Regions from separate parts of the Homo sapiens genome. Here region 1 is linked to region 2. Evidence: promoter capture Hi-C in human tissues and cell types (Jung and others, 2019). All regions are on one chromosome and are shown on one strand. Each heading gives the region's core, a stretch centred on a gene start or on the middle of the fragment in contact. The rest is flanking DNA. Distances are from core to core; before and after follow the strand shown. Region 1 has its middle 3.0 kb from the start of LINC00334. Region 2 holds the start of PCBP3 (poly(rC) binding protein 3).

Region 1 (4,389 bases), core at 1,270-3,769, 410 kb after region 2:
GTCAGTCTCAATTTCTGGAACATTTACTAAGAGGCTGTCCTTGTCTCAGTTTATCAAGGGACTGTCGTTTATCCCTGATTCTCTGTCACCTTATTTAATCTAATATAGTTTGAGGGGGTTGAGAACATTAAAATGTTGTTAATTTCATTGCTTTTTGGGGCCAATTTAATATTTTTGATAAAATGCTTTTATTATACTATTATTTTAAATGTGTTTTCATTGAATCCTTGAAGATGTAGTTCATTCTATTTATGGCAGATGTCCTCCATATACCCTAATCCTCCTTGTCAAACCAGTGAACCAAATTAGACATTTTTCGTCAGGAAAAGTCTGACCTACTTTTTCAATTGAAATAAAAGTGTTAGCATGCTTTTTCAAGGATATTAAAAAAAGAAAACCACTGAGAAATAAATTATAGAGGACATCTTATTAAATTACCAAAAGCAATAAAGTTATGATTTAAGACGTGTAGAGCTAATATAATTAATTGACCCACTTTATGATATGCCATTACAAGAAAATACATCTATATACCACTCTTCTTACTTAATTTGTAACACTTTAATGAAGCATGTGGGTAAATGTTCAGGTCATGTACTAAGTGAGGACTTGTGTGTATATGTTTATTGAACATTACTTTTAGGAGCAAAACACTAAATAAGAATCAACTATAGGCCAGGTGCAGTGGCTCACACCTGTAATCCTAGCTGTTTGGAAGGCCAAGGTAGGAGGATCACTTGAGCCCAGGAGTTCGAAACTAGTCTGAGAAAGATGGCAAGACTCCTACAAAAAATTTAAAAATTAGCTGGGTGTGGTAGCATGCACCTGTAGTCCCAGCTACTCAAGAGGCTGGGGTGGGAGGAGCCCAGGAGTTTGAGGCTGCAGTGGACTACGGTTGTGCTACTCCACTCCAGCCTGGGTGACAGAGACCCCATCTCTTATTAAAAAAATCAAGTATAAAAGTCATTTATAAACCCTCCCCCATTAATTTTGCTACGTATTACAGAAGTTCAGGAGGGGCTGTGCAGAGCTGGACCTCAGCCTCTGAGGTGGAGTGCTGCTGTCCTGCTACTGGCACCTGTGAAGGCGGGCAGTGAGACTCCAAAGCAACCTGCTGATGAGAACCAATAGCAGCTTTGCAGTTGCAGAAGCACTGCGGCTGAGCAGCAACAGCAAGCAAATGGCAGGAAATCACCTTCTCCCTCATCCTGTCTGCCATGGTCCCTCTTGTACTACCTTTGGCAGAATATAAAGCCAGCAGAGAATGGGAACATCATATTTGCAGGGTCCCAGCCTCAATATTATAAAGCGGAACGTAAATATTGAATTTGGAACTGAGAGATAAAGCTTCATAACTGACCCAAGTGGTAGATAGCATGAAAGGTCCAATGTGTCTTCACTCTAAGTCCTAGAAGGAAAGAATCAACATAATGTGGAAAACTAACAAATCCCGTAGCTGACAAAGTGTAAGGTGTGTCTGCAGTATTGTTTATGAGTATCTAAGAGTATTCAACTCATCCATAGAAAATAAGAGAAATGAGCAGACAGGCCAGTAGCCTGTGAGACACATGAGCCAGTAGACTGTGGAGAGAAAATGGGAGCATCAGAGAGGTATTCAGTATTCATAAGGCATTCAGTATTCATAAGACATTCAATATTCATGAGGCATTCAGTATTCATGAAGCATTCAATATTCATGAGGTCAGACAAAATTATCCACCGGTTATTGACTTCTGTTTTGGCCCTACTGTTTTCTGCCTGGGACAAGCAGATAAAAGCCCTAATTCATTTAATCTATTAGAGTTAGTCAATTTGTCAACGGAGTCAATTTTAACATCTTACCACTTCCCTTATTAACAGATTTTATAATGATTAACATAAAATCTTTGACCTTTGTTCATTAGAAAAATAATGGAGATTCCCATCTGTGCCCCAGTGGGACAGAGACTGAGACGTACTCTCATATACTTGGGTCTCCATGTCGCCCTGGCCTTATCACGTTGATATTACCCAGACTAAATTCTGGGTTATTAAAGATGTGTGTTGTTTTCTTTCACTTTTTTTTTTTTTTTTTTTTTTTTTGAGACGGAGTCTCACTCTGTCCCCCAGGCTGGAGTGCAGTGGCGCAATCTCGGCTCACAGTGCAACCTCCGCCTCCCAGGTTCAAGCGATTCTCGTGCCTCAACCTCCCGAGTAGCTGGGATTACAGGTGCATGCCACCATGCCCGGCTAATGTTTTGTATTTTTAGTAGAGACAGGGTTTCGCCATGTTGGCCAGGCTGGTCTCAAACTCCTGAGCTCAGGCAATCCACCCACCTCGGCCTCCCAAAGTGCTGGGATGACAGGCGTGAGCCACCGTGTCTGGCCTGACTTTAGCTTTTTAAGAACCACCGCAGGCAGGGCGCGGTGGCTCACGCCTGTAATCCCAGCACTTTGGGAGGCTGAGGCGGGCGGATCACGAGGTCAGGAGATCGAGACCATCCTGGCTAACACGGTGAAACCCCGTCTCTACTAAAAATACAAAAAATTAGCCGGGCCTGGTGGCGGGCGCCTGTAGTCCCAGCTACTAGGGAGGCTGAGGCAGGAGAATGGCGTGAACCCGGGAGGCGGAGGTTGCAGTGAGCCGAGATCGCGCCACTGCACTCCAGCCTGGGCGATAGCAAGACTCCGTCTCAAAAGAAAAAAAAAAAAAAAAACCACCACAAACTTAGCAAAGTACTGATTTTTACACTGTAAACCTCTTGTAAGATTTCCTAAATTTTGTTTCTCAATTTAAGCATCTCATGCAAACCTGCTTCCCAGGTGGCAAAGCTCTGACGCATGGTATGTCTGGGAACTTTTAAAATTAATACAGAATATATTTATTTAATATCTGCAACATAGCAGGCTTGTGCCAAGTGAATAGCCATGAACAAACCAATGCCTCTCACCCCCTGATGTCTGCATTTCATAGTGGGACAGATAAACAAATGCAAATGTCATTAATCAGTGCTAGGAAAGAAAATCGACCAGGGAGAACAACATAAGATTCAGCTGATGTATAAAGTACTTGTTTCCACAAAAATACATTTAAAATGACTCTCTAAGGAAGTAAATGATTGCAATTTTAAAAGCTTCCTGATATTTTTCTTATTTTCTTTAATTTGGACAATTTACATTTTACAGCACTAAAAGTTGTTGCTTTTGTGTGAAAAAAAATCCCACGAGTCCTTAGAGTACCAAATAAATGGCATTTTAAAAAGTCTATGCTAGCACTTTTTAAATCTTCTTATGAACATTTGCAAACATACAATTACCAACACTTGGCCGGTATCGTTTCATCCGAATCTTCTTGTCTTCTCCATTAGTGGAGCTGCCTGTCCCTGTTATATTTTTTATTTTATTTTTTTGAGACTGAGTCTTGCTCTGTCACCCAGGCTGGAGTGCAGTGGCGCGATCTCGGCTCACTGCAGGCTCTGCCTCCGGGGTTCACGCCATTCTCCTGCCTCAGCCTCCCGAGTAGCTGGGACTACAGGCGCCCGCCACCACGCCCGGCTAATTTTTTGTATTTTTAGTAGAGACAGGGTTTCACCGTGTTAGCCAGGATGGTCTCAATCTCCTGACCTTGTGATCCACCCGCCTTGGCCTCCCAAAGTGCTGGGATTACAGACATGAGCCACCACGCTCAGCTGTCCCAGTATTTTTGTGTGTGTGTGTGTGTGTGTGTTTTTTGAGATGGAGGCTCGCTCAGTCGCCCAGGCTGGACTACAGTGGTGTGGTCTTGGCTCACTGCAACCTCTGCCTTCTGGGTTCAAGCGATTCTTTTGCCTCAGCCTCCCGAGTAGCTGGGACTACAGGTGCATGCCACCACGCCCGGCTAATTTTTGTATTTTTAGTAGAGACAGAGTTTCACCATACTGGCCAGGCTGGTTTCAAATGCCTGACCTCATGATCTGCCCACCTCAGCCTCCCAAAGTGCTGGGATTACAGGCGTGAGCCACCATGCCCTAGCACACCACTGGGTCCCAGATGTCCTTGGGAACAGATCAAGGCAGTGCAAAGGCCCTGTGCTGGTGAGGGGCTGAAAGTTGGTGGGAACTAACTGCTGTTGCTGTTTTAAGCCCGTCTCAGACACATCCTTTCATCTGTGATGCCTTCAGTCTGTGGGTGTGGCAAAGTCCATGAACATTATATTAGCCAGATGTTAGCACTTCTATCAGCCAAATATTTTAGTATTTCTATATTTTCTTTTTTGTTACCCTCTCCTTTTCCATGTGGTCTTCCAATGGTAAGTTCATTCCACTATGTAGTTCATCTGTTGTGTTCACTTTTTCAAATTCTGCTTGGTTCTGTTTTCTGATCTCTTCCTGGACTGTGTTCTAAAACGCTAGAATCTATTCTAATAGGATC
Region 2 (4,136 bases), core at 529-3,028:
AAAGATATCTGGGAAAGTGATGTTTTGAGGTCCAAAAGCACCACTAATCAGCAGCACCTGGGGCAACGCCAGCCAAAAAGCCCTGAATTCTAGACAGAGTCCATTTTTTTCAGTTATAAAGACCCCATTTATCATCAAAACTTTTTCAAAACCTTATAATATTATCAACTAAGAAAATACGTGAAGCTACGTAAGTTCTAAACCATTCGTAATGAACTTGCACTGTATAAACAACAGCATCTACATACAAGCAAAAAAAAAAAATACTGCTCGAAAGTGAGACATCAGTTAGTCGGTCACTGCACTTGTTAGTTTTAAGGCCCCATGTTTTCTGACAGATCTCCAAGCCTGAAAACACCAGAACTATTTCTGCTTCTGTCGTGTGATGATCAATTAGGTCCTTTCAGATCTTGCAAATGATCCCTTTAGAGTGCCACTGTTCTACAAACACTCCTTTTGGGGCCAAAATAGGTATCTCTGACACGCTTTAAGATGATGAATTATTCTTGAATATGAGGAGGACTGGGAGTTAGTTCTCTTAAATAGGGAAGCACCCTTGCACACTCCTTTGGGATCCACATCTGAGAAAGTCCAAAGAAAAGAAAAAGGGCAACAGTTTGCCCCTGAAAGTGAGTTCAATTTCAGAGGGATATGTGAGGGCCTGTGCCAGAGGAATATTTTTGAAATGGGGGGAGTCTATAAGTTGCCCAGTCTAATCTCTAAAGGCCTCTCCGCAAGGCCCTGCTGCTCAAGATTCCTTCTGGCGAATCCCACTCTACAAACACTCAACAACTAAGAGTGCTACTGGCTCACATGGAGGGCTAACAAGACCTGCAAATCCAGGCTGCTCTGAAGGACGGTGGAAGATAACCAACCCCGAGCCACGAGATTTAGGACCCGACTTTTGGTTAACTTTCAAATTTCTTATGCCAGTAATATACTTCAGAGTGGCGCGGAGGGAATTGGAAAACATCACCAGGCAAAAAAAAGAAAAAAACTCTTTCACGAAACAAGACTTCCAATTAGAACACGTGTGGGGACAATAAGAAACACGTTCTAACCACCCCCAAAATTAAAATAAAACACAGCGAGCAACAAGAGAGACCTGCGCGCGCCCCACCGCCCGCGCGCGGCTCTCCGCAGGGTCACCGAGGGGTGAGGCCGCGCTCTCCCGGCGGCCGTCCAGGGGGAGGAGGCCCCGCGCCCCGCCCCGCCGCCCTCCAGCCGCCGCGGCCGCTCCGGGGTGTTCCCCAGATCTCTTCTCAATCAAGAGATGAAATTTGTGCCGTTTTGAAACTGAAGCCTCAAGTAGTCCAGACGTTTTCTGACCCACATCCGAGACGTTCTCGGCTTCCCGCCGCAACTTCCGAATTTGGGGAGGGGGCGGAGGCGGGCGGGCCAGGCCTGGCGACCGCACCTTGAGGGAGCGCGAGTCCCCTCGCTGCCCCGGGCCGCCGCAGGCGCCGGCGGCGGTCGGGGACGGCGCGACCCAGCCCGGGACCCCCGCCCGCCCCGGCTCGGGCGAAGTTTGCCGCGGCCCGGGGTCGCCCCGTCACTCGGCCTCCGTCGGGGACTGGGTCCCCGTAACCCGCAAGGGCGCCCGACCCCGACCCCGCCCGCCACCGCTCACTCACCTGCCCTGCGCCGGACGGCGAGCCCGCGGGCCGGCGGGGAGAGGCCGGGAGGCCCGGGCGGGGTCGGGGCGAGGCGGGTGAGGAGGCGGCGGCGGAGCCTAAGTCAGCCGAAGCGGCGGCGACCGCGGCTGAGGCGGCTGAGGCGGCGGTCGCGGCTTCAGGCGCTCCAGCCCGAGCGCTGCGCGCGGCGCGGGCCCGCCCCTCTGCGCCGCTAACCAATCTAGCGCCGCGCGCCGCCGCCGGCCCCGCCCCCGCCCAAGGGCAGGCTCGCGAAAGCGGGCGCCGCGGGCCAATGAAAGGGCGGAACATCAACCGGCGCGGCCAATCCGAGCCCGGAAAGTTCTCTGGAAAAAGCCAACTCCAGTCAAAGGGGCGGGGGTGGGGCTGGGGGCGGGGCGGGGACCTGGCCCAATGACGCGCGGGGCGGGGCCGAGCATTGGGCGGGGAGGAGGCGGGGCCTCGAACGGGCGGGCCGGTCACTAGTAGTGGGCGGGGTCGTAGGCGGGACATTGAGCGGGCGGGGCAAGAATCGGGGCGGGGGCCTAATGAAGTGAAGCGGGGAGGGGACGGGCAGTGGGAGGGGCAGGTCACATTTGGGGTGGGGTGGGGGCGGGGCAGGGGCGGGGCTGAGTACGGGAGGCCAGGCCGGGGAGAGGCCTAAGTCGGGGCGGGCGGGAGAAGGGCAAGAGCAGTGGGCGGGGCTCGGGGGTTAGGGGATTAGTGCCCTTGCTGGGGCGGGGCCCAGGCTTGGGGCGGGCCTGTGGTGGGCAGGGCCGTGGATGGGCGGGGCGAGCCTTCGTGGGCGGGCCAGGCCTGTGGTGGGCGGGGCGGGCCGTTGGTGAGCGAGACCTTGGTGGACGGGGCGGATCCGCGGTGGGCGGGGATTTGGCGGGCGGGCGGGTGGGCCCGACGGGACGGGAATGGCCGTTGAATTCCCAGCCGTGCCGCAACCCCGAAGGTCCCCCTGCAGCGCCCGCTTCCCGTTCTCTGTGGGCCTGGCCCCGGCCCGGAGGCTGGGGCCGCAGCGCCCGGCGGGCAGGGGCCCCGAGCGGCTCGTGAGCCTGTGCCCAGACGCTGCCCGCCCCGCGCTGGTCCCGCCGCCCTGTCCCCTCCGCCCGCCCGGCGTTCGCGTGCCGTGGCCTGGGGCGGGGCGTTGCTGGGCCCCGGGGGCTGCAGGGGGAGGCCGCCCTTTCTCTGGGCTGGCTCCGGGCTGTTCCGCTCCGCGCCGTTTTCCCGGTACTTCCCGCGGAGCCCGCCTCGCTGTGCGTCCCCGCCCGGGCGTTTCTTCCGCGGCGCTGAGCGCCCGCCCCGGCCTCGGGCAAGGGCAGCCGGACGCCCCGAGGACCAGGGCGCTGGGGCCGAGGCGCGTCCTCCGCAGTCGCCGCGCCTGGGCCCCGTTTCCCCGCGGGTCCTCGCCGGGGTGGGAGGCGCCTCTTGGCGTCCGTGGGGAGCTGGGTGTGGGGGGCGGCAGGGCAGGAGGTGGGGGGGCTGAGCCGGAGAAACGTCCTCGCCCCGCCCGAGACCTCAGACACCCCAGAACCTCGGGCCGGCAGCCAGCTGCAGGAATCGCGCCCTAAAGCCTGGGGTCCGCGCCCGCCCGCCTCCCGCGAGCGCCAGGGGCTGCCGGGTCACCGGGATGCAGCCTCGAGGCGACGTCACAGACCCCACGCGGCCCCCCGAGCACCCCCGGAGCCGGCGCGGGGACAGGGGTTCGGGATGGACGGAACCCACGCAGGGAACGTTCCGGGCCGTCTACGCCAGGCTCAGGGCGGCCGTCAGCTGGGGTTGGAGGTGGGTCAGGAAGAGATGTGTCCTTTTGTCTCCAAATGTCGCTTGTGTCATTAAAAGACAACCTTAAAATAGAAGAAAAAAAAAAAAAAAAAGCCTGGGCTGGCGTGAGGAGGGGCCGTCCGCGAGCTACGGAGGCTGAGTCGGCGGGGAAGGGAATGTGGAGTGGGGCGGGGGGGGCGCTTGGCGAACCCGTGCTTTGGACGCGCTTGGCGGTTTCGGGGAGAATGAGAATGGAGGGGAGGGAGGCCAAGGCCTGCAGCCTGGTGGGAATGCTGGGAAGGACGCTGTGGACAGGACCTTACTGGAAATGAACCAGAAGGGAAGGTGGGCCGGGCGCGGTGGCTCGCCCCTTAATCCCAACGCTTTGGGAGGCCGAGGCAGAAGGATCGCTTGAGCCCAGGCGTTGGAGACCCGCATGGGAAACATCGTGAGACTCTGTTTTTAGAAAAGGAGGAGGAGAAGGGATACTGGGCGGCCTCTGCCACACCTGGACTCTGCGGGCAGGGGGCCAGAGGGACCCAGGGCTGCTGTGCTGGAGCTGGAGCTGGCGCGAGGGTCTGGGCAGAGCACTGTCAGCGCCCCCAGATTACAGGCTGCCAGCCTCCCCCGGTCCTCTGCGGGAGCCTGCGGCCTCAGCTGCCTGCCCCGCCGGCTGAAAGACACAGTTAGTCATTAGGAAAGTAATGATAGTGTTTTCAGGGCAGCGTGTTA

The links. Contacts are between HindIII fragments. The study calls those that stand out against the background at their distance.
Region 1: a fragment that was not itself captured here is called in contact with the fragment with the promoter of PCBP3 in region 2 in 3 of the 25 tissues and cell types used here (H1 embryonic stem cells, IMR-90 fibroblasts and dorsolateral prefrontal cortex).

The regions. Positions count from the first base shown.
Region 1 is chr21:45,229,166-45,233,554 of GRCh38, reverse strand. No RefSeq gene overlaps it. Among named protein-coding and RNA genes, the nearest start is that of LINC00334, 3.0 kb to the left of the region's middle. The HindIII fragment of the contact is 4,173 bases long and covers 433-4,389 here.
Region 2 is chr21:45,641,367-45,645,502 of GRCh38, reverse strand. PCBP3 (poly(rC) binding protein 3) reads right to left here and starts at 1,778. Exons shown (of 18, transcript NM_001384156.1): 1 at 1,635-1,778. RefSeq lists silencers at 1,124-1,263, 1,584-2,573. The HindIII fragment of the contact is 13,348 bases long and covers 1-4,136 here.